7 separate regions of the Homo sapiens genome follow, and regions 1, 3, 4, 5, 6 and 7 are each linked to region 2. Evidence: promoter capture Hi-C in 16 types of primary human blood cells and fetal thymus (Javierre and others, 2016). All regions are on one chromosome and are shown on one strand. The core of a region is centred on a gene start or on the middle of the fragment in contact, and the rest is flanking DNA. Distances in the headings are between cores, read along the strand shown.

Evidence for each region. The method cuts DNA at HindIII sites, captures the fragments that hold promoters and counts their contacts. A CHiCAGO score of 5 or more calls a contact.
Region 1: a fragment that was not itself captured here is called in contact with the fragment with the promoter of KRTAP5-5 in region 2 in 4 of 17 cell types (M0 macrophages, M2 macrophages, M1 macrophages and 1 more); the score reaches 7.5 in M0 macrophages.
Region 3: a contact is called between a fragment that was not itself captured here and the fragment with the promoter of KRTAP5-5 in region 2, in 2 of 17 cell types (M0 macrophages and M1 macrophages). The highest score is 6.9, in M0 macrophages.
Region 4: a contact is called between the fragment with the promoter of MRPL23 here and the fragment with the promoter of KRTAP5-5 in region 2, in 2 of 17 cell types (erythroblasts and M1 macrophages). The highest score is 6.4, in erythroblasts.
Region 5: a contact is called between a fragment that was not itself captured here and the fragment with the promoter of KRTAP5-5 in region 2, in 1 of 17 cell types (M2 macrophages). The highest score is 5.0, in M2 macrophages.
Region 6: a fragment that was not itself captured here is called in contact with the fragment with the promoter of KRTAP5-5 in region 2 in 2 of 17 cell types (M0 macrophages and M1 macrophages); the score reaches 5.3 in M0 macrophages.
Region 7: a contact is called between a fragment that was not itself captured here and the fragment with the promoter of KRTAP5-5 in region 2, in 1 of 17 cell types (M1 macrophages). The highest score is 5.0, in M1 macrophages.

The regions. Positions count from the first base shown.
Region 1 is chr11:2,003,219-2,006,481 of GRCh38, forward strand. It overlaps a transcript of MRPL23 not described here. Among named protein-coding and RNA genes, the nearest start is that of H19, 7.0 kb to the left of the region's middle. The HindIII fragment of the contact is 6,201 bases long and covers 1-3,263 here.
Region 2 is chr11:1,628,141-1,631,317 of GRCh38, forward strand. KRTAP5-5 (keratin associated protein 5-5) reads left to right here and starts at 1,635. Exons shown (of 1, transcript NM_001001480.3): 1 at 1,635-2,790. The coding sequence starts at 1,701. The coding sequence ends at 2,414. The HindIII fragment of the contact is 5,409 bases long and covers 1-3,177 here.
Region 3 is chr11:2,023,028-2,026,511 of GRCh38, forward strand. No RefSeq gene overlaps it. Among named protein-coding and RNA genes, the nearest start is that of H19, 27 kb to the left of the region's middle. The HindIII fragment of the contact is 4,354 bases long and covers 1-3,484 here.
Region 4 is chr11:1,945,093-1,948,614 of GRCh38, forward strand. It overlaps MRPL23 (mitochondrial ribosomal protein L23), which reads left to right and starts at 2,240. Exons shown (of 5, transcript NM_021134.4): 1 at 2,240-2,287. The coding sequence starts at 2,271. The HindIII fragment of the contact is 42,193 bases long and covers 1-3,522 here.
Region 5 is chr11:1,210,924-1,214,132 of GRCh38, forward strand. No RefSeq gene overlaps it. Among named protein-coding and RNA genes, the nearest start is that of MUC5B, 11 kb to the right of the region's middle. The HindIII fragment of the contact is 1,826 bases long and covers 846-2,671 here.
Region 6 is chr11:2,077,362-2,080,615 of GRCh38, forward strand. No RefSeq gene overlaps it. Among named protein-coding and RNA genes, the nearest start is that of MIR483, 55 kb to the right of the region's middle. The HindIII fragment of the contact is 1,339 bases long and covers 800-2,138 here.
Region 7 is chr11:2,099,230-2,102,796 of GRCh38, forward strand. No RefSeq gene overlaps it. Among named protein-coding and RNA genes, the nearest start is that of MIR483, 33 kb to the right of the region's middle. RefSeq lists enhancers at 602-1,244, 1,245-1,886. The HindIII fragment of the contact is 695 bases long and covers 1,436-2,130 here.

The DNA of each region.
Region 1 (3,263 bases), core at 582-3,081, 380 kb after region 2:
CCCTGTTGGGAGGGTCTCCCTCTGGACCTTGGGCTCAAGTTCTTTGGGGTCCAAGTCATGACCACTGCAGAACAGAGATTTCTCTTTGCCTCCAAGTATCCACTGTCCTACGTGCTATGGGAGCTGTCATCGGTGGTGTCCCTGGGATTAGGCTCCCAGCCATGCATGGGCTCCTAGACAGCCCCAGGGTTCTCCCATTGGGAAATGCCGCTCTACTACACATCAGCCACAGCGCATTAATGCTTGGTTCTCCTGGTGAAACCGCCTCTGCAAAAATTATTACAGAAAATCGGCCGGCGGTGGTGGCTCATGCCTGTAATCCCAGCAGTTTGGGAGGCCGAGGTGGGTGGATCACCTGAGGTCAGGAGTTCAAGACCAACCTGGCCAACCTGACGAAATCCCATCTCTACTAAAAATACAAAAATTAGCTGGGCATGGTGGTGGGCGCCTGTAATCCCAGCTACTTGGGAGGCTGAGGCAGGAGAATCACTGGAACTCCGGAGGTGGAGGTTGCAGTGAGCCAAGATCGAGCCATTGGACTCCAGCCTGGATGATAAGAGCGAAACTCTGTCTCAAAAAAAAAAAAATATATAACAGAAAATTATGACAATGAAAGAGATCTGACGTAACCAACTCTGTCTTGCCTTCTTATTCATTTCTGGGTGCAGGCTGGACTAACTTTGGGAAGAACTTAGTTTATAGTTTATCTTTGAAACAAAGACAATAACAGCCCTTTCCCAGGACAGACCCTCTTCCTGCCTGGGGACTAGACTTTCAGGACTAACAAATTAGCCACAGATTAGAAATTATGGTTTAGGAGTCATGGAGTCACACATCTGGAGGCTGAAAGATTTTTAACCTCCTCAAATTGCTCCTAGGATTACATCACTGTTGCAGAACCTAAGATCAGTGGTTGAGATATTTCGCAGACCCTGTACTGGGTGGATCAGCTGGCACCCCCCAGATTGATAAACTGGCTCATCTAGTCTTGTGGCCCCCACCCAGGAACTGACTCAGCAGAAAAAGATGGCTTTGACTCTCCATGATTTCATCTCTGACCCAACCAATCAGCACTCCCTATTGACTCGCCCCCTACCCACCAAATGATCCTTAAAAACTTTGATCCCCAAATTTCCTGGGAGACTGATTTGAGTAATAATAAAACTCTGGTCTCCTGCACGGCCGACTCTGTGTGAATTAAACTTTATTGCAAGTCACCTGTTGTGATAAAGCAGCTCTGTCCAGACCGGCGGCAGGGAGAACCTGTTGGGCGGTTAGACGGGTTCAGACACTACTCTCCTGGGGGTGATGGACATCTCTTCTGTTCACTGATTCCCGGAGGAAGATTTGGGAGATTTTGCCTGGGAGCAGGCAAACACCTCGGGCTATTTGCTTTCTAATGGGGCATTTGCATGTGTATAGGACAGACCGGGAGCTGCCCAGTTTCTGCTTCCAGGCGCACCTGCTAAGAGTAGTCTTGCCAGTGAAGCGACTGCTGGGGTACAGCAGCACAGCACAGGGGACCTAGTTTTTTTTTGTTTGTTTTTTTGTTTTTTGAGTCTCGCTCTGTCCCCTAGGCTGGAGTGCAGTGGCATGATCTCGGCTCACTGCAGGCTCCGCCTCCCGGGTTCACACCATTCTCCTGCCTCAGCCTCCCAAGTAGGTGGGACTACAGGCGCCCACCACCTCACCCGGCTAATTTTTTGTATTTTTAGTAGAGATGGGGTTTCACCGTGTTAGCCAGGTTGGTCTCGATCTCCTCATCTTGTGATCCGCCCGCCTCAGCCTCCCAAAGTGCTGGGATTACAGGCGTGAGCCACCGCACCCAGCAGGGGACCTAGTTTTGAGGACTACTGGGGTCGGGTCTGGTCTGTGCTGGCCACGGTAATGGTGAGTGCCTGGGTGCTATGATCCACACACAGGGTGGCACCAACATGAAAGTGGCCAGAGCCCCAGCCAAGGTGCCCAGAGCACTTGGGTGGGGATGTGGGCACAGCGCTGTCACCTGGAGGCAGATGTGGGCACAGTGATGTCACATGGACAGGTATATAACCACAGTGATGTCACCAAGACAGGACGTGGGCACAGTGCTGTCACCGGGATAAAGATGTGGGCACGGTGCTGTCATCTAGATAGACACATGAGCACTGTGTGTCACCTGGATAGGGATATGGCACAGTGTCACCCGGATAGGGACATGGCACAGCGTGTCACCTGGATAGGGACACAGGTATAGCGTGTCACCTGGGTGGGACATGGGCATAGCACATCACCTGGGTGGGACACGGGTACGGCACGTCACCTGGATAGGGACACGGGTACGGCACGTCACCCGGGTGGGACACGGGTACGGCACGTCACCCGGGTGGGACACGGGTACGGCACGTCACCCGGGTGGGACACGGGTACGGCACGTCACCCGGGTGGGACACGGGTACGGCACGTCACCCGGGTGGGACACGGGTACGGCACGTCACCCGGGTGGGACACGGGTACGGCACGTCACCCGGGTGGGACACGGGTACGGCACGTCACCTGGATAGGGACACGGGTACGGCACATCATGCGGGTGGGACATGAGTACAGCGTGTCATTAGATAGAGGGGCTTTCTCTTCTCTCTCCCCTGTGGCTGGGACCTACCCAGATATAAGTAATGGGATAGCCCACTTGGGCTTTGCCAGTTCCCTGAGGCTGCCATAAGGAAGCCCCAGAAACTGGGCTGATTGGAACAACCACGTGGAATGCGTCTCTCCCTGTTTCGATGCTAGAAGGTCAGAGTCGGGGTGGTCAGGGCTGGCTCCTTCTTCGAGCTCTAAGGGAGGCTCCAGTGCTGGCCGACTTTCCCAGTGTTCCCAGGCTCCCAGACCTGTCACCCCAGCCGTGCCCATCTTCCAGGATGCTCTCATCCTGCGCCTTCACGCAGCGTTGCTCTCTCGTGCCTCTCCTCTACCTGTGAGGACACCATGATGTTTGATTCAGGGCCTGCCCTACTGCAGTCTGACCTGATCGATTGCGTCTATAATGACCCTATTTCCAAATGAGTTCGTGCTCTGAGATGCTGGTGGTCAGGGCTTCAACTTGTCTTTTCTGGAGAGGCACTAAACAGACTCCATGAGGAACTGAGGAGTCCAGAGCAGTGAGATGGAAGGAGGCTGGGCCCTGACCCTGGGAGCTGGCGATCTTCACACTCATGACCCTCTCATGTCTCTCTCCGTGACAGAGAAAAGCCAGCTCTGGGCCCATTCAGGATCGTCCTGGGGTT
Region 2 (3,177 bases), core at 385-2,884:
CAATGGACCACGAAGAACAAAGGCCCATGAAAGGGAAGATGTTCCCAAAGTACAAAAGGAAAAGTCCTCTTGTACCCGAGGGAAGGAGCTGATCCAAGGGTGTCACTAGGAGTCAGCGCGGGTGTTGATACATTACTTCAGGGGCTGGAGGCAAATATACGAGGTACTGGAAGCAAATGTATCAAGCACTGGGACAAATGTATCAGGCGCTGGATGCAAATGTATCAGGCACTGGATGCGAATGTATCAGGCGCTGGATGCGAATGTATCAGGCGCTGGATGCGAATGTATCAGGCGCTGGATGCGAACGTATCAGGCGCTGGATGCGAATGTATCAGGCGCTGGATGCGAATGTATCAGGAAGCAAATGTATCTGTTGCCTCTGTTCCAGAGCTGGAGGATGCCGCCTCTGGTGGGGACAGCCAACACAAGGCGGCTCTCTCCTAATGGGTTTTCTGTTCCTCCCTGAGATACAGTCCCCTGCCCCAGAACAGAGTGGGGCTCCAGCATACACGGCAAGAGTCACCGAGTGCCAGCTGGTGTTTACACCGTGGCCTGAGGCCTGTTGACTGGGCTCGGGGCACTCACAGGTATTGTGGTCACGGGGGCAAATGGCCATCCGGTTCCCTGCTCTCCACCGGCTTTCTTTAGCATCCAGTGGGCCTGCACCCGAATGTAGTTGCTGCTTCCCAGGCTGAGCCCGGGACCCGGAGCAGGCGGGCACCCAGACAGGGCATCCTCTTCCGCTCACTGGCCCTGAAAGGGCCTCTGCCATCAGCCTGTGCCGCTGTCCGGGAGCCCCTGGGCCGGCCACGCAGTGGGGGAACCCGCTTCACAGCGACACCGTGCGGCGGCAGGAGGAACCGCTGCAGGAGACAATGCGATCTGGGTCCTGACCCAGCGCAGAGGCAGTGTCTGCCCCTTGCAATGCTTGGATTTCCTTCCTCAAAAGGCAGCCTTCGATGATCTGAAATTCAAGTTCCAGCAGGCATCCTGTACTGTATCTGTCAGCCCTGCCACCCGAGTGGTCTGAAAGCCCTGGAAGAGACCGCGGTTATCACAGGAGAACACTTTCCATGGGGAGCACGCAGCAAGCTCCAGAATAAGCGCTTAAAATCCCCGTCTCAGTCAACACTGCAAACCTTCCAACAAAGTCTTACACCGAAAACGACCCTGCTGAGCTGAGGGCTGAAGCCCCAGGTCCTGGGACCCTTGGAAACAGCCCGCGGGCCAGGAGCTGCTGTGGACCGTGAAGGTGTAGGGCCTAGGCACGTCCCAAGCAAGACACGATGCTCCCGCAGAGGAATCTTCCCGGGAGCAAGCCAGGAGTCCTGGGCTCAAAATCACCCTCGGCAAGACCAAGGCCTCTGAGCGAGCCACTGCCTGCCCATCGCTTCCTTCTTGTCACATGGAAAGGGAAACTCACCGCGGGGCCAGTGTTTACTGAGGGGCCGCTTCCATCACAGACCTGACAGCACATTCGAGAAAAGTGCGAGGAAAACAGGAGTTATTTATAAAAATGTAAAGCAGAAGAGAATACTGGGACCAGTGGCACAAGCAGGAACCAGGAAGTGACAGTGTGCCCAGCCTCTCACCTGACCCTGGACAGGGATATAAAGAGCCCGGGCTCAGGGGGCTCCACACCTGCACCTCCCTCTCACCTGCTCCTCTACCTGCTCCACCCTCAATCCACCAGAACCATGGGCTGCTGTGGCTGCTCCGGAGGCTGTGGCTCCGGCTGTGGAGGCCGTGGCTCCGGCTGTGGGGGCTGTGGCTCCGGCTGTGGAGGCTGTGGCTCTGGCTGTGGGGGCTGTGGCTCCGGCTGTGGAGGCTGTGGGGGCTGTGGCTCCGGCTGTGCGGGCTGTGGGGGATGTGGCTCCGGCTGCTGTGTGCCTGTCTGCTGCTGCAAGCCCATGTGCTGCTGTGTGCCAGCTTGTTCCTGCTCCAGCTGTGGCAAAGGGGGCTGTGGCTCTTGCGGGGGCTCCAAGAGAGGCTGTGTCTCCTGTGGGGTGTCCAAGGGGGCCTGTGGCTCCTGTGGGGGGTCCAAGGGGGGCTGTGGCTCCTGTGGGGGGTCCAAGGGGGGCTGTGGCTCCTGTGGGGGGTCCAAGGGGGGCTGTGGCTCCTGTGGGGGGTCCAAGGGGGGCTGTGGTTCTTATGGCTGCTCCCAGTCCAGCTGCTGCAAGCCCTGCTGCTGCTCCTCAGGCTGTGGGTCATCCTGCTGCCAGTCCAGCTGCTGTAAGCCTTACTGCTGCCAGTCCAGCTGCTGTAAGCCCTACTGCTGCCAGTCCAGCTGCTGTAAGCCCTGTAGCTGCTTCTCAGGCTGTGGATCATCCTGCTGCCAATCCAGCTGCTACAAGCCCTGCTGCTGCCAGTCCAGCTGCTGTGTCCCCGTGTGCTGCCAGTGTAAGATCTGAGGCTCTGACTGCAGACTGCAGGTGGCCTGACTGGTGAAGGGCCCGGCTGCCCAGCTTCCTTGCCCTGGGTTCTCTGGTGCTCCACTGTCTCCACTGTGTCCTCACTGGCTTCATCCACTCCACACCAGTGCTCCCGAAACTGACTGAGGACCCCTTCTGGCTCATTGCCTACTACTTCTCCTGAACTTCCTCTCCCTGCTCCTCACTCATTTAAGATCCAAAGCGGCCCACTGAGGCCCCAGAGGCAGATCAGACCCCTTAGACCCTGACAGCTGCTCCTTCTTTCAGGAGTGTGATCGACCCTCAATCTCTCTGGCTGTCTGTATATCAAGACTGAATCCTGACCCTCTAAATAAACAAAGTCTCTAAGCACAAAGCTCACTGTCTTGTGGTTCTCTCCTTCCCACCTCTCTCTCATTCCCAGAAGCACCATCTTCTTGCCTCCACCCCTGGGCCTGTTCCCATTTCTCTCCCCTCAGCATCTTTCATGTCATGGTCCATGTCTTCATGCACAGAACTAACGTCTATAGCTTTCTGCTCTGGGCCCCTTGTTGTGTTGGGCTCCAGAGATGACAGAGCAGAGTAAATCCAAGCTCACAGTCTGGTATGTGGGGAGAGGTGGGGAGAGGGAAAGGTGGTGAGGGCGGTGGTGTCAGCCGTGGAGGCACTGCCGTCCCGTGGGAGGGAGGGAAGCTCAGGGCCAGGCCACTTCAGCGGAAGGATGAGGAAGGGTCTGTATGCTGAGCTGTGCGGTACATCAGGC
Region 3 (3,484 bases), core at 360-2,859, 390 kb after region 2:
CCGGCTGTAGCTGCCCTCGGGCCCCCACACAACCTGGCTGCCCAGGAAACAAACTGGAGGCTGGAAACCGGCCCCTCTGAGCGTGGGCCACAGGCGAGGCTGCCTGCCGAGTCCTGCCCTCCCGCAGGCCCTGTCTACCCCGGCTGCCTTCCTTCCGGCCACCACTGAGGATGGGAGCATCCTGGGGGTCTGTGTCCAGGCAGCCAGCTGGATGCAGGAGGGCACCCCGGCCGCATGGAAGCTGCCTAGAAGTCCAGGCCCATCGTGCTGCGCTGGCCCTGGGCCTTCTGAATGTCATGGCTCCTTACTGGGCTGTGCTGGCGGGAAGATGGGACCTTGGGGCATTGGCTCTGCAAGTGTCTAAATGGGGGACAATTTCCAGTGTTCCCCCATCTCCCCTGCAGATTCCGTGGGCCCTGGGGAGGGGACACCCCTGCTGCCCACCCCTCCCTCCAGGGTGGAGTGAAGTGGCTCTCCCTGCACTGTCTGGGGCTCCCCTCGCCTCCAGTTTGTCTGAGGAGCTCTCAGGAGTGCTCAGAGGCTCGAGAAGAGGGAGGTTCAGGGAAGCAGCAAACTCTAAACCTTTGTTTCTTGGGAACCTGGGCTTGTAAGGGCTGGGTGTCTGGAAGGGCAGCGAGGCCCTGTGTGCTTGGGCATTGTGCGTGTGTCTGTGTGTGATGTGCATGGGTGTGTGCGGGTGTGGGGAGATGGGTGTGTGTGTGTGGGTGCAGGGAGGTGGGTGTGTGTGTGCAGGTGTGGGAAGGTTGTGTGTGTGTTGGTGTGGGGAGGTGTGTATGTGTGTGTCTGGGGAGATGGGTGTGTGTACAGGTGTGGGGAGGTGGGTTGGTGTGTGCGGGTGTCTGTATGTGGTGTGTGTGTGTTTGTGGGTGTGTGCGTGTGTGTGGTGGAGGAGGCTGGACTGCCCCTGTAGGATCAGAGTCCACCTTTGGAGGGGCCAGCCCGGCCAGGGCCACGGCCGAGATGTAGCCGGGGGACTCTGCAGGGGCCACCAGCACCTCACTTGGCCACCCTGGCTTCTCAGCTTTCCTGACGGCCTCCAAGAGAGGCAGGTGTGGTGTGGGATGCCAAGGCCCCTGTCCCATTGTGGCCCCATTGCCATTGCCATCCTCACCTAGGCTCCTTTGGGGCCTCATCTGGCCAGCTGGATGGTGGGCAGCCCCTGGCTGCAGGCCTCCACCTCCACTCTTGTCTGGGACACCTCCTGACATTGGGGCCCTGAGGAGCCCCCACCTCCCTCCTGCCCACAGCCCCTGCCCGGCTGTCTGGCCAGGGGGTGAGAGGTGCGTCTGTTCTCGCCTGGCCAGGCAGAAGGCAGGAAGGTTCCTAAGCTCTGCTGCCTGGAGGTCCCCGTGTGATCTGCAAATGTCGATCGTGTTTGGTTACATTTAATAGAGGAGAGGAAAATTTCTTCTGAAACCACCTCGTTGGCTTCAAACCAAGTGTGGGAAAGCAAGAGCATCAATCTTTCCCCTTTTAGAACAAGTTTTCTTTTTCCAAAGGGAAAAATTCCAGGCTCCATCTTTCTTTATGTGCCTTCCAGGCAGCGACCCCCCGACCCCCAGCTCCAGGGCTGGGTTGCCAATGCGACAAAGCAGACGGGCCCCCCCACCGGCACCTACCTGGGGCCTGCTGCTCCTTCCTCCAAGGTGCTCTGGGGTGTGAGTCGGAGCTGCACCCCAGAAACGGCTCCCGAGGAACAGTGTCTGTGAGGCTGGGTGCTGGGGCCGCCTGCACCCCCCTTCCCCTCCCAGGGCCCTGCGGGAGACTGCAGGTGGGCACGGACTCACAGCAGCCTCTGGAAAGGGCTGCAGAGGGGCTTGCTGGCTGACTGGCCAGGGACCAGGTTGGGCAGAGACCCCCAGGCGGGAGGGTTGGGGCTCACCAAGATGCTCAACTCAGATGAGAGGCCACCTGCCCACACTCTGGCAGGCCAGCTATCAAGACCGGGGGCTTCTGTCCTCTTTCACCCCTCCTCTCCCTCTCCCTGCCCACAAGGGTCTTCTTATACCCAGGCACCGGCCCCCGTTCCTGTGCCCTCTCTCCTCACCCTCGTCCAACTCCAGGAGCTGCCTGTGGTCCTGAGGCCTGGAGCTGAAGTCCTGCATGGCACCAGTAATTGTAATGGCCACATGTTCCCCTGCAGAAGAAAGGGGAAAAAAGACCTTTTCCAGCTGACATCCAGGCCGGGGGAAGCAGAGCATTTGAGAGGCGCAGGTGCAGGATCCCAGCCACGCCCAGCCCCGTCACCAGGCAGGGCTCCCTGGGGCACAGGTGTGCTCGGTGGCTGGAGGCCCCTGACTGCTCCCTTTGCGCAGGGAGCTCAGTCCTCCCAGCCTCTGTGTGGACCATCGCCGAGTGTCTAGGCCTGAGCAGGTACAGGCGATGCTGTGGATGCTGGCCAACCCCCTCTGTGCTGTGTGCCTCCTGATCTTCCCAAATTCCACCCCTGTCTGGTCCCGAGCCAGGGATGGACCATGGCCTGAGGGTGGGCACAACCCTGACCCCTCTCCCTGTGTCTCATCCACTTGCTCTTGCCACCTGGATGGGCACAAAAAACCCGATGGCCGTGGAGATCCAGGAGAACCCCTAGAAGAGCCTCGGGCACCCCCTCACCCACGATGACCATAGAGGGCCAGGGGAACCCAGAGGAACCTCAGGCACCCCTCAACCCATGACGGCCGTGGAGGGCCAGGGGAACTCAGAGGAGCCTCAGGCACCTCCTCAACCCATGACCCATGACGGCTGTGGAGGGCCAGGAGAAGCCCCAGAGCAGCCGCAGGCACCTCCTCCCCACAGTGGCTGTGGAGGGCCAGGAGAACCCTGAGGAGCCCCGGGTGCCCGCCGCCCACAGCGATGCCCTGACCCCTGGCTTCTTGAGGACCACCTTCCCATCCCCTGGTAGATGCTAAAAGGGAGGACACTGGCTGACGGAGCCCCTGACCTCTCCCTCCTGACCAGGTGGCCATTCTGGGAAGCGTGGGCTGAGGGGCCAGCAGCACAGCCTGTGCCCTGGCCCTGAGTGCGGCTGGCAGGTGGCCTTGGGAAGGTCTCCCTGCCAGGTGTGAATGGTGGGCACTGCTGCTGCCACTGCCACCTCACTGGGTCCAACAGCCAGGGACCAAGTGCATGTCTGCTCAGCACAGGTGGGCAGTGAGGGGCAGCCCATGTTCATGGCACAGTCCCTGCCAAGTGCCCACTGTGTACCCACCCCGGGGGACAGTCCAGGAGGGGCTGGTGGGAAGAGAACAGGGTGTGGCTGAGCTCCAGCCTTGGGTGTGGGCTCTCGGTCTCAGAGGGATGGCCAGTGGCAGAGAACAGAGACCTGGCTGAGGGCAGGTTTCTGCACTGTCACTGGTGAATGAGCACTGGGTCCCCAGGCTTGAGGGGGCTTCAAAGGGGAGAATGCCCTGAGCAGGGGCTGGGGACAAGAGAAGGAAGGCCTGCATCCTGGAGCGAGAGCCAG
Region 4 (3,522 bases), core at 990-3,489, 320 kb after region 2:
CCTGTAATCCCAGCTACTCAGGAGGCTGAGGCAGGAGAATTGCTTGAACCCGGGAGGCAGAGATTGCAGTGAGCCAAGATCGCGCCACTGCACTCCAGCCTGGCGACAGAGTGAGAGTGAGACTCTGTCTCAAATAAATAAACAAATAAAAATAAAATGACAATTTATTAGTTGTTTATCTGAACTTCAGATTTAACTGGGCCTGTATTTATCTGGCAGCCTCAACCCCGTGCAGACCATTGATCTCAGGAGAGGCAGGCAGAGCGGAAGCCGCGCTGGCATTTGTGTTCAATGGCAGGTGGGAAGGAGGAAGAGGAGGTCTCCACTGGCTCCCCAGGCATCTCAGAGACCCCCCATACTTAGCATGCCTTCCGGAGGATCCCATTAGCAGACTATCAGAGAAACAGGGATGGAAGGAGTGGTGAGGGGTCTGCTCCATTGTGACCCCACCCCTGCCTCGCCCTGAGGAAGGACCTCAGCTCCTAGCTCAACCGCCGCCCTCCAGCAGCCCCAGTGATCTGAGCAGCACCCACCCGTGACCCACAGCTCGGCCTCCAATCACCCTCCTCTCCACATCGGCCACCCACAACTCTGAACCCAACTTCCAGCAGCCACATATCTCTAAGCACACTGCACAATGTGGCTGCCGAAAGAGGCAGCATTGCATGAACATAAAAGGAAGCCTGAGGACCCCCGGCCCCAGGACCCCCCTTCTCCAGCTCCATCCCTGTCCTGCGGTCTGCTCCTTGGGCCTGGCCAAGGGCACCTGCTGCTGGGCAAAGGCCTGTCTGGTCACCAGCCTCCTGGGACCCTGCCACTGGCAGCCTGGAGCTTCTCCACCTCACGCAGGCCTGGACAACAGTGGGGACGGCTGCCACCACCTTCCCTGCCCACTCTGGCCCACTTCTCACTCCATCCTGCTTCAATGCCTTCATGCTAGATAGACCCCCTGGAGTCATTTCCACTCAAACCCACCCATCAGGAGGAACTCCAGCCCTACCCGGCCCAGGCCCTCGGAGGGGCACAGTGCCCTCTCCTCCTCCTGAATTTCCATCAACCCCAGTGCCCTCCCGCAGCCCTGTTCCCACCTGCAGGCCTGGGCCCCCTGCCCCCAGCAACAACCAGGACCCATGGCCCCGCTTCTTGCTCTGAAGCATGACACCCCTGCCTCTTGCTCTGAAGAACACTTAGGGTGCTGTTGGGTGCGGGAACAAGCCAGGCTTGGGGGTGGGGGGCACGGGCAGTTAAAGAGATAGATGGAGAAGTGGCCTGAATCCAGCCACCAGGCAGAGGAAACCAGGGGAGGAGGGAGAGGCCTGGGGACAGGGGAGGGAGGCTGCTGCCCTCTACTCCCGAAGGGTCCCAGCAGCCCTCCTGGCCAGCACTACCCAAGGAAAGGAGTGAGGACTGGGCCTTGGACGGGGGTCCCTGTAGAGAGGGCCTTGCCAGAGGCTGGAGGGGGCTGGCCAGAAGGGTGGAGAGGGGGTGAGCAAACGGCAAGGCCTGAAGAGGCCAGTGGCCCTCTTGGAGGAGGCGTGGTGGGAGCACCGAGGATGGACAGCGTGGCTGGTGTGGCCAGCGTGGGGGCTGCCAACCGGGCTGGCCAGAAGGGCGAGGTGAGGGGCCCTGGGGTTCCGGGCTCCCGGGTAAAAACAGCCAGATGGAGAGAGGGGCTTCAGACCCCAGGCCCGGGGACCCGCCCTCCCCAGCACTACAGCCCCGGTTCTCCACTTCCAGCTCCCAGCAGCTGCAAGCGCAGCGGTGCGGGGCCAGGCTGTGGCCTGGAGCTGCCAAAGGGCAGGGGCACGGGTGTGGGGGGCGTGCAGGCCGGGGTCCCGGGAGGCAGGGCAGACAGGCCCGAAAGAGTGCGACGGCGGCGGGAGGTCTCTGGGGCTGGGAGGGGTGCGGGCGTGGGCGGGGCGCGAGCAGCAGGGGCGCGGGCCCGGGCTTCAGGCTGTGGGGCCGGGAGTGCGGGGCGGGACTGCTGCGGCCCCGCGTCCTGTGGAGTCTGCGGCGCGGGGAGTGGGGGTCGGGGCGGGGAGGAACGTGGGGTGCGGGACAGGAGGGGGGCAGGGAGGGAGAAGAAGGCGGCGCGGGGCGGGGCGGGCGCAGGGCTGGGGACGGCACGGGCGCGCGGCACGGGCGCTGGCGCGTGCGGGGGGGGCGGCGCGGCCTCCGGAAGCGAGGGGGCGCTGTGCCAGGCGGCGGCCGTGCGGGGCGGGCGCGCTGCTCCTTCCGCCTCGCGGACCCCGGAAGCGCGCGTGGCCGCCATGGCGCGGAATGTGGTGTGAGTAGGGGTCGTCACCCCCCCGTCGCGGGGCGCCCCTTAGTGTCACAAGCAGACGGACCCCACAGGGCGCGCGGACTCCGGGGAGCGGGGTGGGCGTCCCTGGGCCGCCTCCTGGCCCGGGCGAGGCAGGGTTCTCCGGGACCCCCTGTCATGCCTTGAGACACGCGAGGCGGGTGGCGGAGGAGCCCCCCGCCAGGTTTAGGGCAACCCCAGGGGGCGGGCGTGGCCGGGCTGGGGACAGAGGGTCCGAGCCAAACCCATGGAGGCCACGGTGCCCCCGCGTGGGGAGTGGGAGGGTGGCCCGGGGTCAGGCCCGGGGCTGGTCCCGCAGCCAGGGCCGAGGGAGCTGTTTGGAGACGTTTCTGATCGTCACGGGGCGGGGGCCACGTCGGCTGTTGGGTCCAGGCGGGGAGGCCCGGGCGGCCCCCACCGCAGCGCGGGCGCGGCCTGAGGCAGAGGAGCTGGGAATCCAGATTGGGTTTGAGTGGGAAAGGGCAGCTGACCGCAGCCCTCAGGGCTTTGGGGCAGGCAGGGCGGGAGGCCCGGTTCTGCTCAGCCCAGACCCCCCACGCCCACTCTGCATGTTCTCTGGATTCCCAGGGGGCCATCGGGGCGCTGTCCTGCACCACTTCGCCCTCCCCAAATTGAAGCAGGAAGCCCTGCATATTTCTTGGTGAACGAATGACTCAGGCGTAATCAGTAGATGTGGGCTCCCGGGTGGGTTTTGGAGAACAGTAATCAGTGTTTCTGGAGAGGGACGGTCAAGGGGCCAGGGTGTGGCTTTGGAGGCCCCTGCACATAGCTGGGGAGAGAGGGGAGGGTGGCAGGTGGGACCCCCAGTGGAGGAGGCTTCCTTCAGCAGACACCTGGGACCGGTGCTGCGCGTGGCCCTGACCTTGGGGAACACCCAGCACCAAGGAAGAAAAGGTCTGAGTGAGGCCAACACTGCCCTGAGCCTCACGTGAATTCCACGCTGGCCCTTCGCCTGTCCCTGGAGAATGAGGAGGAAGTGAGGGTCAGAGGACCCGGGTGGGGTGTTCCTGAAGGGCCAAGGGTGGTGGGCCCCTGGAAACGGATCAGGTGTGGTTGCCTTGGAGGCAGCGGGGCCCGCTCGCCCAGCAGTGCACACACTCCTGTTGCCAGGGAGCCTTTGCAGGGAGCGCTGACTGGACTTGCTGTGGACTGGATGCAGCTGGGGTGGGGGTGCCGAGAGGGTGGGATCCTGGGTGAGT
Region 5 (3,209 bases), core at 509-3,008, 420 kb before region 2:
GTCAGGTGTAGTGGTGGGTGCCTGTAATCCCAGATACTTGGAAGGCTGAGGCAGGAGAATTGCTTGAACCCAGGAGGCAGAGGTTGCAGTGAGCGTGCCATTGCACTCCAGCCTGGGCAACAGAACAAGACTCTGTCAAGAAAAAAAAAACACACCAAGAAACAGCCTTTGCAAAGTTCACTTAAAAACATCTCGAATGGATCACTGTAGCCTTCAATAATAAAAAAGAAGAGAAAAACCCAGCCAACACTAGAAAAAGGGGGAAATCTGATTTCCAGAGTTACCACATTATAATAGTTAAATCCCCAATTTTCAACAAAAAAATCACAAGACTTACAAAGAAACAATATAGCCCATCCAGAGGAACAAAATAAACTGGGAGAAGTTATCCCTGAGTAAATTCAGACATCAGTCTTACTAGCCAGTGATTTTAAAGCAACTGTCTTAAGTTGCTCAAAGAACTAAAGCAAAAGACGGACAAAGAACCAAAGGAGGTCAGTAAGACAATGCACGTACAAAATGAGAATACCCACAAAGAGACAGAAATCTTTTTAAAAAGAACCAAACAGATATTCTGTACTTGGAAATTATAATAACTGAAATGAAAAAAAATCACTAGAGGGGTTCAACAGCATATTTGAGCAGTTATAAGAAAGGCTCAGCCAAACTTGAAGACAAGGCAATTGAAATGATCAAGTCTGAGGAGCAGAAAGAAAAAAAGATTGAAGAAAAGTGAATAGAATCTGAGGTGCTTGTTGACCACCAAGTGGGTCTTACAGGAGGAGAGAAAGGGAGAAATTATTCAAAGAAACTCAAAAAAATTCAAAGGAACAAAAATGGCCAAAAGCTTTCTAAAATTGATGAAAAACATGAATCTACAAATCCAGGGAGTTCAAGAAACTCCAAGTAGGATAAACTCAAAGAGATCCACACTGAGACACATTATAATCAAACAGTTGAAGGATAAAAGCAAAGAAAGAATCTCAAAAGCAAGAAGAGACGTGACTTGTCGTATTTAAGGGATCTTCAGTAAGATTGGCAGCATATTTACCATCAGAAACCTTAAAGGCCAGCAAGGTAGTGGATGATAACATTTAAAGTGCTGAAATTAAAAAACAACAACACTGTCAACCAAGAATTCTATATCTGGCAAAACTGTCCTTCAAAACTTAGGGTGAAATTAGGACATTACCAGATAAACAAAAGGTAAGGGATTTGTTGCCACTAGCCAAGCCCTGCAAGAAATGCTACACAAAGTCCTTCAGGCTGAAATAAAAGGACACTAGACAGTAACTCAAAGCTGTAAAAAGAAATAGATCTTCACTGAAACTACATACATGGCCAAATATAAAAATCCAGTATTACTGTAAATTTGATTTTAATCCACTTCTTCTTTTCTACAGGATATAAAAGGCAAATGCATAAAAATAACTATAAATCTATGTTATTGAATACACAAGGTATAAAGATGTAATTTGTGACATCAATGAAATAAAGGGAGGGGGTGGAGCTGTGTAGAAGGAGGGTTTTGTGTGCAATTAAAGTTATGTTGGTATCAATTCAAACTAGACTGTTATAACTTTAGGATGTTATATGTCATCCCGAGGGTAACCACAAAGAAAATGCTATAGAATATACACAAAAAGAAATGAGAAGGGAATAAAAATTTGTCACTTCAAAAAATCAACTGAAGACAAAAGAAGGCAGTGATGGAGACAATGAGGAACAAAAAATTAGAAGACATACAAAAAAATAGTAAAATGGCAGTGGTAAGTACATCCTTATTAGTAATTACTTTAAATGCAAATAGACTTAGACTCTCCATTTAAAATGCAGAGACTGGTTAAAATCAATTTTTAAAAAACCATGATTGGCTGGGCATGGTGGCTCACGCCTGTAATTCCAGCACTTTGGGAGGCCAAGGCAGGCGGATCATGAGGTCAGGAGATTGAGACCATCCTGGCTAACATGGTGAAACCCCATCTCTACTAAAAATACAAAAAATTAGCCGGGCATGGTGGTGGGTGCCTGTAGTCCCAGCTACTTGGGAGGCTGAGGCAGGAGAATGGCGTAAACGTGGGAGGCAGAGATTGTAGTGAACCAAGATTATGCCACTGCACTCCAGCCTGGGCAACAGAGTGAGACTCTGTCTCAAAAAAAAAAAAAAGTCAATTCAACAAGAAGATATAACAACTATAAATATATATGAACCAAACAACAGAGCCTCCAGGTATATGAAGCAAACATTGTCAGAATGAAGGGAGAAATAAATAGTTCTATAACAATAGCTGAAGACTTCAGTACCACACTTTCAATAATCAATACAACAACCAGACAGATCAATAAGGAAACAGAGGACTTGAACAACACTATAGACCAATTAGACATAATGTACATGCACAGAACACTTCACCTACCAACAGCAGAAGACACATTTTTTTCCAAGTGCACATGAAATATTCTCCAGGAGAAACTATATGATAGGATCCAAAACAAGTCTTAATAAACTTTCAAAGATTGAAATCACACAAAGTATTCTACAAAGGAATGAAGCTAAAAATCAATAATAAAAGAAAAACTAAAATGTACAAATATGAGGAAATTGAATATCACACCTTTAAATAACAAACAGGTCAAAGAAGAAATCACCAAAGATATTAGGCATTCTTAAAGCTTGAATGAAAACAAAACCACAATGTATCCAAACTTATAAGACACACAAAGGTAGTAATGAGAGGGAAATGTATAGCTAGAAACAACTAAATCAAAAAAGAAGAAATATCTTAAATCAATAACCTAATTGTATACCTTAAGGAACTAGAAAAAGAAGAGAAAACTAAACCCAAAGCTACCAAAAGGGAGGACATAATAAAGGTTACAATAGAAATAAATAAAACAAGGAATTTTAAAAAATCATAGGAAAAAAAGCCTTCAATGAAACCAAAAGTTGGTTCTTTAAAAAGATCAACCAAATTGACAAACTTTTAGCTAGATTGGCTAAGAAAAAAGAGAAGATTCAAATTACTAAAATCAGAAATAAAAAGGATATTACTAAAAATTTTACAGGAACAAAAACAATTATAAGAGAATGCTATGAACAATTGTCTGCCAACAAATTTGATAACTTAGAAGAAACAGGCAAATTCCTCAAAAGCACTCTATGTAGCAAAACTGCCTCATGAAGAAATAGGCAAACTGAGTAGATGTAG
Region 6 (3,254 bases), core at 219-2,718, 450 kb after region 2:
TATCTGTTCATCTGTTGATGAACACCTGAGTCATATCCAGGTTTTGGCTATTACAAAAAAAAAAAAAAAGATTCTGTGAATATTCATGCACAAGTCTTTGCATCAACATATTTTTTTTCCTCTTGAGTAAATATGTAGGAGTGGAATGGCTGGGCCCTGTGCTGGGTGAATATTCAACTTTCTAAGAAACTGCCAGATTGGTTTCCAAATGGTTGTACCATACCCTGTACCCACAGTGAGAATTCCAGTTCCACCACATCCTCAGCAACGCTGGTTATAATCAGTCATTTCAAGTTTAGCCGTTCTGTTTACCCGATGACAAATCAGGCTGAGAATCTTTCCATGTACTCATTTGCTAGCTGTTTATCTTATTTGATGGAGTGTCTGTTCAAATCTTTTACCATGTTTAATTGAATTGTTTGTTTTCTTATTGTTGAGTTTTGTTAACTCTATATCCTTCATCAGATTAATGATTTGCAAAGATTTTCTCCCTGTCTGTGGCTTGTTTTTTCATTCTCTTAACAGCCTCTTTTGTGAAGCAGTTTTTAATTTGGCTGAAGGCCATGTTATCCATTAGTTCTTTTATGAATTATAGTTTTGGTATAACTAAGAAATCTTTGCCTAACCCAAGGTCACAAAAATGTTCTTTGATGTTTTCTCCTAGAAATTTGGTGTTTTTAGGTTTTACATTTAGGTCTATCATCCATTTTGGGTGAATTTTTATATATGTGAGACATGGCTTGAGGGTGTGTGGGTGGGGGCTTGTGTATGGTCATTGTTCCAGCACCACTGGTTGAAAAGCTTGTCTCTCTCTCTTTTTTTTTTTTAACAGCATTGACTTTGTATCTTTGTCAAAATAGTTGTACACATATGTGTGGACTCATTTGTGTGGACACATATGTGTGGACTCATTTGTGTGGACACATATGTGTGGACTCATTTGTGTGGACACATATGTGTGGACTCATTTGTGTGGACACATATGTGTGGACTCATTTGTGTGGACACATATGTGTGGACTCATTTGTGTGGACACATATGTGTGGACTCATTTGTGTGGACACATATGTGTGGACTCATTTCTGGACCCACTGCTCAGTTCCATTGTTCTATTAGTCTGTCTTTTTTTTTCACTTTTTTTTTATTTTTTACATATATATATATTTTTATTATACTTTAAGTTCTAGGGTACATGTTCACAATGTGTAGGCTTGTTACATATGTATACATGTGCCATGTTGGTATGCTGCACCCATTAACTCGTCATTTACATTAGGTATATCTCCTAATGCTCTCCCTTCCCCCTCCCCCCCACCCCACAACAGGCCCGGGTGTGTGATGTTCCCCTTCCTGTGTCCAGGTGTTCTCATTGTTCAAAGTAAACTAGTTCAACCATTGTGGAAGACAGTGTGGTGATTCCTCAGGGATCTAGAACTAGAAATACCATTTGACCCAGCTATCCCATTACTGGGTATATACCCAAAGGAATATAAATCATGCTGCTATAAAGACACATGCACACGTATGTTTATTGTGGCACTATTGATCTGTCTTTATGCTGATGCCGCACTATAACAGCTGTTGATACCAGATTGTGAGACCCCTCCAACCTTTTTCTTCTTTTTCGGAGTTGCTTGGCCTTTGCATTTTCATATGAATCTTAGAGCTTGTCAGTTTCCACAGTGAAGACTTTTGTAATTTGGATTGAGATTGCATTTCATCTGTAGATCAGTTTAAGGAGAATTGACGTCTTAACATTAATGAATCTCCTGGTCTATGAGAAAGGTATATCTTTCATTTATTTAAATTTTTTTAACTCCTCTAGGTAATATTTTGCAGTTTTCAGTGAATATACCTTTTGCATTTCTGTCAAATTTATTCCTAAGTTCTTCATATTTTGTATGCCATTGTAAATGTTGTTATTTCAATTTCTGAGCGTTGATTGCTAATATTTTTCCATTTCATCTAAGTTGTTGAACCCATTGGCATAAAGTCATTTATAATATTCCCCTATTATCCCTTTAATATCTGTGGAATGTGTGGTTGGGTCACTTGCTTCTGATATTTGGAACTTAGGTCTCTTTTTTCCCTCTCTCCTTCTCTTCCTCCCTCCCTCCTGCCCGATCACTCTGGCTAGAAGCTTATCAATTTGACTGAGCCTCCCAAAAAACTAATTTTTACTTTCATTGGTTTTCTCTTTTTTTCTGTTTCCTATTTCATTGATTTCTGTTTTGATCTTCATTCTTTCTCTTTTACTTGGGTTTAATTTGCTCTTCTTTCCTCAGTTTCTTAAGGTAAAACTTGAAGCCGTTGCTTTGAGACACTTCTTCTTTTACAATATAGCAGCTAGTGCTATACTTTTTTCTTTAATGACCAGTTTATCAGCATCCCACAAATTTGCATGTGCTGTGTTGTTACTTTTATTCAGTTCAACAAATTTTCTAATTTGCCTTTTGATTTTGTCTTTGATCCATGAGTTATTTAGAAGTCTGTTATTTGGCCTATTATTTAGTTCTTAATATTTGGGAATTTTCCAGAGATATTTTTGTTATTGATTCCTAATTCTATTCTGTTATGGCCAGGTAATACATTTGGCATCACTTGAATTCTGCTGAATTTAGTAAGACTTATTTTATGGCCCAGAATATGATCTATCTTTATAAATGCCCCACCTGCACTTGAGAGGAGAGTGTAGTCTGCCGTCGTTGGGTGGAATGGCCTATAAATGTCAATTGGATCAAATTTCTTCACAGCGCTGTCTACGTCTACTCAATCCTTACTGAGTTTTTCTGCCTGCTCGTTCTCATAGTTATGGAGAGGGGGTATTGAAATCTCTGACTGTAATTATGGTTTTGCTTACTTCTTGCAATCTCATCATGCATTTGGAAGCTATATGATTAGGTGCCTAAATGTTTAGGATGCTTATTTCCTCTTGAAGAATTGACCTCTTTATCATTATAAAATAGCCTTCATTATCCTTATAATATTCTTTCCTCCAAAACCTCCTTTATCTGAAATCAGGATAGTCACTCCAGCTTTCTTTAGACAAGCATTAGCATGTTGTAACTTTTTTCATTCTTTTTCTTTTGGCCTATTTGTGTCTGTATATTTAATGTAGGCAGCACACAGTCAGGCCTTGCTTTTTAAACCCAATTTGACATTTTCTACTTGTAATGAGGTTTAGACCATTTGTATTTCATGTGATTATTGATGTCATTAGGCTTGAATCTTCTATCATCTTCCTATTTGTTTTC
Region 7 (3,567 bases), core at 533-3,032, 470 kb after region 2:
TGGGGTGGGGACTTCCTCCTCTCTCCTCGAGGCTGTGGCCAAGCTTATCCTGAACCCAGAACTCCCACCAGTCTCAGCCCACATCCCTTATCACTCCCCCTTCTTTCCTGGTGCCTGCTGCCTGCCCCCACCCAGCTCCTGCAGCCCTGAGTAGGTGATATGCCGGTGCCCCTCCCCTGCTGTCTCCTGTCCTGGCTGGTGCTGGGCACAGCAGGCCAGCTCTGCTCTTTTTGATATCCCCAGGTTCTAAGAAGCGGCTTGGCTGACCCCAGCCCACCCTCCTGAGGGTCAAAGCTGGCCCAGACACGCTACAGTGCCCAGCACCTGCTCCCTGGGACCCTCCCCATGGCCCCCTCCCACCAGGGCTCATTGGGATCCTCAGGAACTGCTGTCCCCACTTGTGGCGTGTCCCCAGGTCTTGGCCCTCAGCAGACAGCTCCTCAGCCTGCCGCTTCCCTTGTGAAGTGTACGTAAGTGAAACATCCCTATGCTGGCCCTGCCAGCTGGCACAGGGCAGACTCTGATGAAGAGCAGCGCCTGGGTGCCAGGGGGCCCTCGTGGCCAGGCTGCTGGGCTGGGTGCACCCACACACTCCTCTGCCTGCTCACCTGCTGGCCACGCCTCTCACTGCAGCCCTGGTGGAGGATGCCAAGCGGGAGCCGCACCCCCGCCTTGCCTGACAACAGTACCCGTCACCCGCTCTCAGCCGCAGCTCCAGCAGCTGCTCCCCTGCCCTCCCCGGCCAGCGGAGGAGACTGGAGTGGGCTACAAGGAAGGCAGGCCCCACACTCTTGGCCCTGCGCCCGAGTGCCCTTGCCAGGCCAAGTCAGACCACAGGACAGGCCACAGTGGTAGCAGGGCCTGGAGGACAGGCTGCCTGAGGCTGGCCTGGGTGGGGGCGGGGCAGAGTGGGGGCTGGGCTGTGTGTGCCAGGGGCCCTGCATCCTGTCCTCCTCTTTGGAGAAGCCCAGGCTCCTCCGGCCTCTCTTGCCTCTAAATCATCTGCTTTTCAGCCTCACTAATTCGTGCAGGGTTCCTTGGCTCATCCACACATTTATTGGGCACCTACTGACTGCACACCCTGCTGGGCTTCAGGTCCTGTGTGCCCCAGTAAGAACAGCTCAGTTCTGGCACAGATCTTAGGGGGCGCAAGGCAGAGCCGCCCCTGGGGCCTGCCCCGCCTAGGCCTGCAGACGTGTTTTCCTCAGCCCCACCGGAGCTCACTGCGAGGGTAGCTTTTCACCGAGCCAAGGTGGCCCCTGTGCCCAGACAGCCCAGATTACAGTGGGCATACGCTGGGGCAGACGCCGGCAGGGCCGCCTTGTTATCTCAGACGCTGACGTCACCTGTCTGCGGGAGGTGCAGGGGGGCCACTTCCCGGGGCCAGGCAGGAAGCCCGCCCAGTGCAGAGAGGGAGGTGCCCAGGCCCATCTCAAGCTTGCTGGGCCCAGGGGACCAGAGCCCCTGGGTTCCCTGATGCAACCAGGCCCCACTCTGCACCCCGGGGCCTCCTAGGCTGGCCTGGCCCTGCCCCTCCGTCTGCCCTTCCCCAGCCCAAAGCCCGCAGGACAAGTGGACAGCCCAGGCCGGTTGCAGTCCTGCATGCTCTGCTGAGCTCCCTGAGTCCAGGTTTTGGGGGGCAGTGGCTTTGGGCCAGGGTTCAGGGGTTTATTTCACAGGTCCTTCCAGGTGCCCCACAGTTGCTGAGTGGGAGACTGGCACTGGGGACTGGTGACAAGAGACCTCCCGGGCAGGCCCCTGGCACGGGCTGAAGGACGGAAGCTGGAGGCAGGGAGAAGCCAAGGGCATTGGGTTTGCAGACTCCATGGGGCAGGACAGGAGGGACTGGATGCCTGGGGAGGTTGGGGCAGGACTGTACCCAAGACAGGGGATCAAGCCTAGTACAGAGCCGAGCAGCGGGAGGGACCACCCTGCCAGGCCAAGGGAGGAAGACCCGGGGCCTCCAGACACAGTGTACCAGAGGAGAACCCTTCCCATCCAGCATGGCCAAGCGGGACCCGTGTGGCACTTGAAGCTGGGTCCCTGGACTCACCACCTTCCCTCACTGGACCCCTCGGCAGCCATGCAGGTGGGGCTCACTCCCCTTTCTACTCGCCACCCTGCAGAGGAAGCTTCTTCTCGGCCAGCTGGCCCACCTGTGCCCCTCCCTCAGGAACCCCACCTGGCCCACCCCACAGCTCCTGTGTGTTCCCAGGGGCATCTGATCCTTCAGCCTGGCCCCTCTTTCCTCTCCAGCCACCTGTGCTGCCATTCCAGTGACAGCCAGGCCAAACTCCCTGCTGGGTCCCCAAATGTCAGGGCGTCTCTCTCACCTCTGTTCCCTCCTCCTGGAATGCCCTTCCTGCTGCCTCATGGCACGCTTCTCTTGGGCCGTTTCACAGGTGTCGCTTGGGGCTTGAGGATTTCAACCTCATGGGTTTTTAGATTAGAGTTAGAAAGAGGGGAGACCTTCACCTGGAGGCAATGATTCAAAGACAGGCAGATTACTTCTCTCCATCGACCCGCACAACCATCTTGGCAGCCCATTTTACAGAGAAGCCTAGACCAAAGGAATGAGGTGTCTTTCAAAGGCCACACAGAGCCAGGAGAGACTCTTCCCCACACTGACGTCCACTGGGACCCCAGCCTTAGTGCTCCCTGTGTGTGTCTGTCACTGTCATTGTGGAAAATAAAAGGTCCTGAAAGGACAGTCTCAGGTCCTGGTCCTGGTCTTAGATGTGACTTATGATGACTTCAAATCCATAAGACACAGATGCAGTGGGTAAATTGAGGCAGCCTCTTGTTTCTTAGCCAAAGAACTTGTTCAAGAAGTTTTCTTAGCAATGGGCTTCCAATTATCAAACCTGGATGATATAGAATTGTGGTGGAAAGGGTGGTAGATAGGTGGGTGGATAGATGGGTGGGTGAATTGATGGATGGATGGGTGAGCGGATGGATGGATGGATGGATGGATGGATAAATGGATGGATGGATGGATGATCGATGGATGGGTAGGTGGGTGAATGGATGGAGGTTGGAATGGATGGATGGATGGATGAGTGAATATGTAGGTGAGTGGAAGGATGTGTGGGATGGATGGGTGGATGAGTGGATGGGAAGGTGGTGTGTGAATGGATGAATGGATGGTTGAGATGGATGGATGATTAGGATGGATGGATGGATGGACGGATGAAAGGATGAGTGGGTAGAGGAAAGGATGAATGGATGGGTGAGTGGGGGATGTGGAGACATGAGGATGAATGTAGACGTATGAATAAGTAGGTGGATGAATGAAGAGCAGGTGGGTAGATGGAAGGGTGGATGAACAGTTGGATGGAGGAATGAATGGATCCTCAAATAGCACTTTCTTTGGCTAAGGTGTTGTAACCTTGAATCATGGAGAATGATTGCCAGGCACCCTCCACTCTGTGAGTCTCTGGTTCTCTGCCATGACCCCCAGGGCCATAGAGCAGTGTGGCTTCTCAATCCCCAAATAAGGTGGACAAAGTCCGCACTGGCAGGCCCAGGGAGCAGGAAGTCCGGGTGGGGTGGGAGGCCCTGCTCCCG